Regions from separate parts of the Homo sapiens genome. Here region 2 is linked to region 1. Evidence: promoter capture Hi-C in human tissues and cell types (Jung and others, 2019). All regions are on one chromosome and are shown on one strand. Each heading gives the region's core, a stretch centred on a gene start or on the middle of the fragment in contact. The rest is flanking DNA. Distances are from core to core; before and after follow the strand shown.

Region 1 (5,007 bases), core at 2,482-4,981:
AGTGTCACCGCTAGACCAAGGAGCCCTTCTGGTGGCCCTGTCTGGGCATAACAGAAGGCTCGCACTCTTGTCTTCTGGTCACTTCTCACTATGTCTCCCCAGCTCCTATCTCTGTATGGCCTGGCTTTTCCTAGGTTGTGATTATAGAGCGAGGATTATTATAATACTGGAATAAAGAGTAATTGCTACCAACTAATGATTAATGATATTCACATATAATCATATCTAAGATCTATATCTGGTATAACTTTTCTTGTTTTATATTTTATTATACTGGAACAGCTCGTGTCCTTGGTCTCTTGCCTCGGCGCCTGGGTGACCTGCCGCCCACAAACCAGGACCAGGGAGACCTGAAAACCTTCCCACAGGTGAGCTGTGCCAGAGTCCCATGAGATGCGGTTCTTGGGGTAGCTTTAGGGGCAGGGGTTAGAGGAATGCAACAAGGATCCCGGCCCCTGGAGGGACAGGAAACAGGTGTGGCCAGAACCTTATAGGATTCTGCATCCAAGATCCGGTCTCTGAAGAGTTTAAGAATTATTCATCATTCATTCCTTCCCTCCTTCGTCAGAGAACTACTGAGTGTGTGTCTCTCACTGGGCCCTGCGCTGGTGCAGGGTGTGAGTGGGGAGTGTTTTATCCTCCTGTGGGAGTGTCACTGACACATCAGGAAACACAGGATTTCAGGTCGAGTGAGGGCAGTGGTGCGCATCTGAGAGGGAGGCCCGGACATTCCTGGCACTGACTCTGTTGACACAAGGGATTTAGTTCTAGGTTAGGCTAATGTGTTAGGCTATTTTTTGTTACTATAAGGAAATGTCTGAGGCTGGGTAATTTATAAAGAAAAGAGATTTAATTGATGCAGGGATCTGCAGGCTATACAGGCATGGCACCAGCGTCTGCTCGGCTTCTGGTGAGACCCAGCAAGCTTACAATCATGGTGGAAGGAGAAGGGGGAGCAGGTGGTGTCATGTGGCAAAAGCAGGAGCAAGAGAGAGTGTGGAGGCGCCACACACTTTTAAAGAACCAGATCTCCTGTGCACTCAAAGTGAGAACTGACTTGTCACCAAGGGGATGGTGCTGAGCCACTCATGAGAAACAGCCCCCCATGATCCAATCGCCTCCCACCAGGCCTCACCTCCAATGTTGGGGATCACATTTCAACATGAGATTTGGAGAGGATAAACATCCAAACTATATCAGGAAAAATTGATTAATTTTCCATTTGCCCCTTACTCTCCAGACCAAAATCTCCCCCTCTGAGATGTGGATGCCCAAGAAAAAGGAAAGAGAACTTAGGACTGGTCTCAGGCCTGCAGATGTCTAATAATAACGCCAGCCGTCCCCTGGTGGAGAAGAGGCAGCTGTGGCTGCAGAGAGACCTCGTGTGACTCTAATCTGACACCTTTGACTTGTGTGACCCTAGTCGGTGACTGTCTCCCTGTTCCTCAATTTTTTTTTTCAATAAGTAGGATAAGTGCTATTTGGCTGTGACGTTGTTTGTGAATTAATCTCAAAATATTTACAATTACTTGACCTCAGCTGTGTATAGAGGAGCTGCCCAAAGGAACAGCATCTATGCTTATTTGCCTCCAAAAGAGAGGTCCCTGAGTCTGATCCCTTGTGGAAAAGGAGCTGCTGGGAGCATCTTCTCTCTTCTTTTTCCTCCCCCTGGGGATACTGAACTTCCCATGGAGTCATCTAAGTTCCCCTGGGCAGTGGGCTCATGCCCTAGTAATCTTGTCCATCTGTTCACTCCATGCTGAGTCTCAGGTAAAGGATGAGGCCCTGTCCTTGCCCAGGAGAGGTTCTTGGGGCTGGACCCTGGCTGGTGACCAACTCCAGGAGCCACGACCCTCAGACAGCTGGTAAATTCTTGCTCCCAGTCAGCCCTGCCCAGGAGGCCTCACTCAGCCCTGGCACAGGATCCCTAGGGTCCCCAGGGTCACCTGGAGTCAGGAATCTGGGACAGGGATTTGCACAGGGGCTCAGTTCTGGGAAGAGTTGAGCTTCTCTCTGAGAATCCTAGGGGGACCCCTCAGGCCAGGCCCTGATCCAGTTCTCCAGGGTCTTTCTTAGGGTCAGGTCCATGGGGAGACCATGGGGTTCTTTTCTGACACTGACCTTGCCCTGCTGAGTCCCCCCATCAGACTGTCCTTCCTCTGCAGCGAGTGTCTGCAGGGTCTGGATGCAGGAAAGGAATTCTGATCTGTGGAAGTTTGTCTCCCCCGTGTGTGTCCTGCACTAAATGTCCAAACCCTGATACAGAATGTAATGCAGAGAGGGCCACAGGCACAGCCCAGGCCTGACAATCCCATATGTGGGAAGTAGAACTGACCCCCAACACCCAGAGGTCATGTGGAAATACTCACGGTATACATGGAACTGTCCAGTTGCTTCTTCATTCACAAGATCTGACTTTATGACTTGTAGGGTGTAGAATCCTATGTCATTCTGGGTGACATTCTGGATCAGCAGGGATGCATTGGTGTATATTGTCTCTCGACCGCTGTATGCGGCCCCTGGGGTAGCTTGTTGAGTTCCTATTACATATCCTACAATTAGACTGTTGCCATCCACTCTTTCCCCTTTGTACCAGCTGTAGCCAAAAAGATGCTGGGGCAGATTGTGGACAAGTAGAAGCACCTCCTTCCCCTCTGCGACACTGAGCGGCATGGATTCAATAGTGAGCTTGGCAGTGGTGGGCGGGTTCCAGAAGTTTAGAAGTGAGGCTAGGAGGGAGAAAGCATCAGTCAATATTGGGACCCATGTATTGGGATGGAAAGATGGGGCCCTGGGTCCTGAGAGAGTCTCTTCACCCTTCAGCCTTGGAGAGTGTATGTGTGTCCCACTTGGTCAAGGTCAGTAACGTGACCTTTCTTTCTTCAGCACCTCTAACCTTGGCATTTTCCTGTGTGGAATCCCCTTCCCCAGGGGTCTGCATGGCTCCCTCCCCACTGCCCTCAGATCCTGCTCACATCAGGGCATCCTTGGGAGATCCCTCCCCTGACACCTCCTCTAGAGACCCTGGGTCTTCCCTTTCTGACCTTTTTCTGCTCTGTTCCCTCCAGGGCTCTTGTCAACACCTGAACTCACATTCTAGATCTCTTTGGGTGTCTATCTTCATCTCTGCAAGAGTGTAAGCTCTTTGAACACAGAGACTTGTCTGATATTTGTTGTACGCCAGTGCCTAAAATTTGATTGCAAATACTGGTGGATGAGTTAAGGAGTGGTGGTTATTTTGCAACTTGTGGTTGGTGGTCAAAGACAGGTTTTAGTGCCCTGGTTATATTTTTATTTAAAGTATCACCCTGATGTAATTCTTATTCTTATCATTTTCTAATTGTAGTGGCCAGTAATGATTAACTTGGAAAACATGATCAATGGATTTTCCTCCCTCTTATCAATCCCAGTTCAATGTGATTGTCTTGTTGTGACCCGTGTCCCTCTCTGATGTTCTCTCCCCTGAGGCTTCAGCAGAAGCCTTCTGTCCCCTATCAGAGCCCCATCCTCCCCAGGAGACCCCAGCCATTCTCTGTGATCCCTCCTCTTGCCCACTCCCAGGAATCCTCCACTCACCTGTGAGCAGAAGCCCCTGCCAGGGGATGCATTCTCTGTGGGGAGAGGCTGAGGGGGGCCCCATGGTCTCTGCTGCCTGCTCTTTCCTCCTCTGTGGAAAAGAGCCTGGGCTCCAGGAATGCTGTAGTCAGGGCTACTGTGACTTAGGCTCTGCTGTCCTTCCTCTTTCCATGCTGAGCCTCCTCCCAGGGCAGGAGCACTTTCCAGGGTCATGGGTGAAGCTCTGCCCAGGTCACCTCTCTGTCCCCTCCCCTCTCAGTTTTGCCTCATTTTCTCTTCTTCCTTTCTCCCTTCTGTCTACATTTGAGTTCCCCAGACCAGGCTCTGAGAAGCAAGGCTTACTTGGATCCCTGTTTCATAACAGGATGACCCTCCCTCCCCAGCGTGGACCTCTGCTCTGCCTTGGCCTTGGGTCTGTCAGCACCATGCAGAGTCCCTGGGGTCCCTGAACCTGGTGTTATTTTCTCTGTGACGGAGAAACTCCTTTGTGTGTGCAGGGTCTTCTTACTGTTCTCACATGTCTGGGAAGGTTGGATTTACTCCCAGCAAGGAGGTCACAGAGATGTCTGGGGTCCTACAAATGGATATATCTAGGGCTAAAGCCCGGATCTAAGATTCTGAGCTGTTCTTTCTGCAGCATTATGTGACTCTAATTTCCTGGGAGTAACTGAGAATGAGGCTTCACAGTGCTGTAGCTTTATGTCATCCAGACACCAGACATTTCTAGGCTGACTTTATGATTTTCTCTCTAGCTTGTACCACCTTTATTATTATATATTTCATCCTTTTTTCTAAATAAATTTAGTTTACAAAACATCCTGTCCTAGCAGGGATCGGTGGCTCAGATCTGTGATCCCAGCTACTCGAGAGGCTATGGTGGGAGGATGGCTTGAGGCCAGGAGTTGGAGACAAAACATCCTTGTCTTATGCAATATTGTCCATGAAATTACAGATTTGATGTGTGCTTAAATGTTTTCTCAATGTATATTAAAATAAACGCATAAGTATTAAAGTTTTTAAAAAGCTTACTTACGTTTCGCCTAAAATCAGTTTTTGGAAATGCTGACACAGTGGCATAAACATGAACTTTATGTCCAGATGTACCTGGGGACAGCTAATGGTTCTGTCACTTAACTATGTTGACTTGGACAAGTCACGTGGCTTCTATGATCCTTGATTCCCTGATTTGTAAAAGGAGGATGGTAAAATCCTCCTTGCAGAGTTGTTGGGAATAAGTGAGCTGCTGTGGGAGCCCCGTGCCCAGGCGGGTGTTGAGTACATGGTGGTTGTCATCGTGGTTATTGCTGTGGAATTCTGGTTTTCAAAGAGTGTCTACGCCGGAATATTGGGCTTGTGGCTTTCTGCTGATGTGGATGTGTGAAAAAGCTACTTTTGCTTGTTAGAACTTGTGGTGCATCTGTCATTATTTTC
Region 2 (5,319 bases), core at 1,719-4,218, 70 kb after region 1:
AGTACAGTTAAAAATCTGATGATAATTTATTATAATAAGAACACAACTCACATAGAAATTTAGTTACTTCTGTGGCATATGACATTATGGCTGATAACCAATTAGATTTCTAGAATTTCTTATATAACTTTTGGAATACATCAATAACATACTCATAAATATAACTTAGAGAAGGTTTAACATCACTAATGATTTGACAGTGCTTCCCATATAATTTAACATATCAAATAAGGTGGCCTTTCCATTCAGCTTCTGTTTCTCAACTAGATTCCTAATTTCCTGGTGGAGCCCATTAATGAACAGGGCCAACAAAGTATAGGCTTACGTATGTTGAAAAACTCCACAGGCAATTCTTTTTTTTTTTTTTTTTTTGAGACGGAGTCTTGCTCTGTCGCCCAGGCTGGAGTGCAGTGGCACGATCTCGGCTCACTGCAATCTCCACCTCCCGGGTTCAAGCGATTCTCCTGCCTCAGCCTTCTGAGTAGCTGGAATTACAGGCACGTGCCACCATGCCCAGCTGATTTTTTTGTATTTTTAGTAGAGAGGGGGTTTCACCATGTTGGTCAGGCTGGTCTTGAACTCCTGATCCGTCCGCCTTGGCCTCCCAAAGTGCTGGGATTATAGGCGTGAGCCACCGTGCCCAGCCAGAAAAACTCCATGGGCAATTCTAATCCTCCTAGCTGAAAGTCATGGGTTTAGCCCCAAGTCCTACCTATTTAGAACAGGGTTTCTCCATCCTGGCTACACATTAGTAGCATCTGGGGAGGCTTAAAAATTACGAATGCCTGGGTCCCACTCCAGACCAGTAAATCGGAATTTATCGGTGGGACTTAAGTATCCATTTTATAAAATGTTTCTGAGTGATTCCAATGTGTAGCTATATTTTCCGTCAGATTTCTCTAATTTCTTGTGATGTTCACTCCTTTCTATTTTGGCATTATGATTATTTTTCAGGTTTTGTCTCCTGTTATAGAATTAAGGACCTTGCCTTCTTCATTTCTGTATCTGTTATGAACATATGAATTGGTTATCAGGAAAAGGTTCTCAGTCACAGGCACAGTTGTGTCCTGAGCTTAAGACTCACAGGTTAATGCTACAGTCTTTGTTCTTCATGAGGTCAGAAGTTGCTTGTGATTAAGGGTGTGGGTAACTCCACAGTGCAGACAGTGGAAGGAGGTCACCCTGTTTGACATGTTTTTAGGTGTAACACCGGAACTAAGAATTCTGTGTACATGTGGGGTGGAGAGGCAGGGATGTGTAGGGAAACAGATCTATTAGGATGATGGAATTATATAAGGGAGTGGTGGTAAAGGAAGTAAAAAAGATTAGTAAAGAGAAGAAATGTGAACTTATCTAATACACCACAGTAGGCCCCTGTGTCTTCTTGAGTAGGCGAGTGAACTAGATTTTAGGAAGGTAATGAGGCAGTCATATGCAAGAAAGATTTCAAAGACTGGCAACAAGGGGTCAAGCAGGACTTTGAGCAGTTGTTGAGGTTTATGGGAATGGAGAGAATGACACAAGTGTGAGATGTTAAAAAAGGACCAAGAGGCTTTGACAATGTATTGAATCTGGGAAACAAATGAGCAGAGGGTGGGGATAATTATATCTAAGAGACAGTGGCGTACAGGGAGCATGAAGACCAGGGAAGAAGAGACCTGCAGGAATTAGTGCTGAGAAGCAGGAGCTTGGGGGTAGGAGGAAGAGATCCAGTCCCAGATACAGGTGAAGAAATCCCTTCCCTCTCCCAAGCATGGCAGTCAGCACTGCAGGAAACAGAACAAGAGGAAAGGCCATTATACCTACCAGTCTTCCTGAAATGAAGAAACTACACCAGGGCTGCTATATCAGAGCAACCCCAACCAGCACTCCAATCATGATGCCGACAGTGGCCCCAGCTGAGAGACCAGGAGAAGTTCCAGATGCTGAATCGTCCGTCATGGAAAGAAAAGAGAAGGAATGAATGTGATGTTATTTTACAGTGGGGTGCCCCAGGTTCCAGCTCTCAGCATGAAGCAGTCTCTACTTGTTGCTTCAAGGAATGCATTAGTTTTGTGGGAAAGTTGCAATTTTTTCTCTCTCACTGTGTTGCTAGTTGGTGATCAGTCTTCTGTCAATTCCACCCTGGCCTGTCTGCACTCAGCTATTTCTGAAGGCTTTGAAATTTGAGAAAGTCTGATTGCTATTTTTGCGTGTCATTAGAACTTTCTATCTTTTCATGGTTGCATCTTTTTCTCAGTGTCTCAGTTGTGGTAGGCATAAATAAGTCTGTTGGGTCTCTGTGGCAGGGACTTGATTGGCAGAAGGCCCAGGCTAGTGCATTCTGTATTTACTAAGTCCGTTGCACAGAGAACTCGCTTCTCATGGGCTCCCACCAGGGGAATGAAAAGCCCAGTTCTGGGGGACTCTGCTTCTCTCTCATGGGTGAGGGGCTTGAGGACGCCCCACCAGCCTTGTGGAAACTCTGAGAACTGCATCACTATCTAAAACTCTCTCCTCTTTCTCCTTCTCAGGAATCAGATCTGCATCGTGGTCTGAGGGCTCTCTCAGGCTCCTCCCACTTCTACTCCACTTTTCCTCATGGTGGTTCCCCCCGGTAAATTATCTTGCACCTCTAATTCCATCTTGGCTGAATCTCAGTGGATGAAAACTAACATACCAGGCTTGATTCTTTGCACTTAACTTTTTTTTCTCTCCCCCATTTTTAGCCAGTAACCATGTCCTAGTGGGTTTTCATTTGGGGCTTGGCTCTCACTAGTCAACTCAGGCTGATGATTAATGCTATGTTAGCTACTGTAAATGCTTTTCTGGCATCTCATTTGATCCATACAATAACCCTGTTGGGTAGGCATGATTTCCATCTTACAGATGAAATGACAGAGACTTGGAGTGGTGAAAAAACTTATCCAAAGTCATATAATTAGTGAGAAGTGGATCTAGGATTTGGCTCTAGAACTGCCTAACTTCAAGCTAATAATAACAGTAGTGATAATAGCAGCTAATATTTATGAAGTTTCCCTCTGTGTGTAGCATTTTGCTGAAAGCTTAATCGAATATTACATTAAATCTTTAAAACAATACTGTTAAACAGTCATTCTTATTGCAATTTTCATTTTTCCTCCATTTCCTGGTGATGAGAATTATTACAATTTTCAGTTGAAGAATTGAAGGCTCAGAGAAGTTAAGAATCTTGTGTGAGAAATTTAATGGTAAATACATTAAATATAAAGAGAGATCTCAAATCAACAACCTAACTTTACAACTTCAGGATACAGAAAAAGAACCACCTCAAACCACAGATAGTACATGAAGGAAATAATAAGGATTAGAGTTTAAATAAATAAAATGGAAAATTGAAAAACAATAGAAGGAATCAATGAAACCAAAAGTTGGTTCTTCAAAAAAGATCAACAAAATTGACAATCATTTATTAGATTGACTAAGAAAAAAGAGAGAAGATTCAAATTACTAAAATCAGAAATGAAAATGGAGGTATAGCGGCTCACACATTTAATCCCAGCACATTGGGAGACTCAAGCAAGAGGATTACTTGAGGTCAGGAGGTCAAGACCAGCCTGGGCAACATAGGCAGACACAGTGTCTACAAAATTTCTTTAAAAAACTATCCAGGCTTGGTGTCACATGTCTGTAGTCCCAGCTTCTCAAGAGGCTGGGGCAGAAGATCACTTGAGCCTTGGAGGTTGAGGCTGCAGTAAGCTATGATGGCACCACTGCACTCTAGCTTGTGCTGGGCTACAGAGTGAGACCCTGTCTCTTAAAAAAAAAAAAGAAAAAAAAAAAGAAAATGGAGATATTGCTACCAATGCTACAAATTCTACAGAAATATTAAGGACTACAAGAATGCTATGAATAATTGTATGCCAACAAACTGTTGAATAACCTAGATGAAATGGACAAATTCCTGGAAACACAAAAAAATTTAATAGGCCTATAATTAGATAGAACCAATAAAAGCATTTGACAAAATTCACCATTCTTTCACAACAAAAACACTCTAATTATGAATGGAAGGAAACCACCTCAGCATAATAAAGGCAATGTGTGAAAAGCCCAATGCTAACATGATACTCAATGGAGAAAGACTGAAAGCTTTCCCTGTAAGACCAGGAACAAGACAAGAATGCCTGCTTTTGCCACGTCTATTCGACACAGTATTAGAAGTCCTAGCCAGAGAAATTAGGCAAGAAAAAAAAAGACATCCAAATTGGAAAGAAGTAAAATGATCTGTGTTTTCAGATAACTTGGACTTCTCTGTAGAAAACCCTGAAGATTAAAAAACTTGTTAGAGTTAATAAATAAATTCAGTGATGTTGCAGGATACAAAATCAACACGCAAACATCAGTTGTACTTCTACACACTAACAATGAACAATCTAAAAGGAAATTAAGAAAAAATTTCCAATTCACATTAACATAAAATAGTATAAAATAGTTAGAAATAAGCTTAACCAAGGAGGTGAAAGGATTGTACCCTGAAAACTATAAAACACTGCTGAAGGAAATTAAAGACAACATCAATAGATGGAAAGACATTTTTTTTTCATGGATGGGAAGTCTCAATATTGCTAGGAGGACAATACCACTCAAAGTGAGCTGCAGGTTCAACGCAATTTGTACCAGAGTCCCAGTGACATTTTTTGCAGAAATAGAAAAACATATCCTGAAATTCATATGGAATCTCAGGACTCTAAATAGCCAAACAACCTGGAAAATAAAGAATGAAGCTGGAGGACTCACACTTCCTGATTTCAGCATTTGCTATAAAGCCACAGTAATCAATACAGTGTGGTATTGGCATAAAGGAAGATATTGAAACCAAAGCAATAGAATATAGAGCCCAGAAAGAAATGCTTGCATATATGGCCAAATGATTTTTGATAACGGTGCCAAGACCATTTAATGGGGAAAGGACAGTCTTTTCAACAAATGATATAGGGAAAGCTGAATATCCATGCACAAGAACAAGTTGAATCTTTGCCTGATACCATATATGCAAATTAACCTAAAATGGATCAAAGACCTAAATGTAAGAGTGAAAAGTATAAAACTCTGAGAAGAAAACATAGGGAAAAAAGCTTAATGACATTTAATTTCACAGTCATGTCTTGGTTATAACAACAAATAGGCAACAAAAGAAAAAAATTGATAAACTGGACTTCATGAAAATTAAAAACTTTTTTTTTTTTTTTTTGACAGAGTCTCGCTCTGTCACCCTGGCTGGAGTGCAGTGGTGCGATCTCAGCTCACTGCAAGCTATGCCTCCTGGGTTCATGCCATTCTCCTGCCTCAGCCTCTTGA

The links. Contacts are between HindIII fragments. The study calls those that stand out against the background at their distance.
Region 2: a contact is called between a fragment that was not itself captured here and the fragment with the promoter of CEACAM3 in region 1, in 6 of the 25 tissues and cell types used here (H1 embryonic stem cells, IMR-90 fibroblasts, aorta and 3 more).

Annotation. Positions count from the first base shown.
Region 1 is chr19:41,795,311-41,800,317 of GRCh38, reverse strand. It overlaps CEACAM3 (CEA cell adhesion molecule 3), which reads right to left and starts at 3,731. Exons shown (of 7, transcript NM_001815.5): 1 at 3,577-3,731; 2 at 2,370-2,729. The coding sequence starts at 3,640. The HindIII fragment of the contact is 7,198 bases long and covers 1-5,007 here.
Region 2 is chr19:41,723,840-41,729,158 of GRCh38, reverse strand. CEACAM5 (CEA cell adhesion molecule 5) reads right to left here. Exons shown (of 10, transcript NM_004363.6): 9 at 1,807-1,925. The coding sequence ends at 1,843. Among named protein-coding and RNA genes, the nearest start is that of CEACAM5, 18 kb to the right of the region's middle. The HindIII fragment of the contact is 5,255 bases long and covers 341-5,319 here.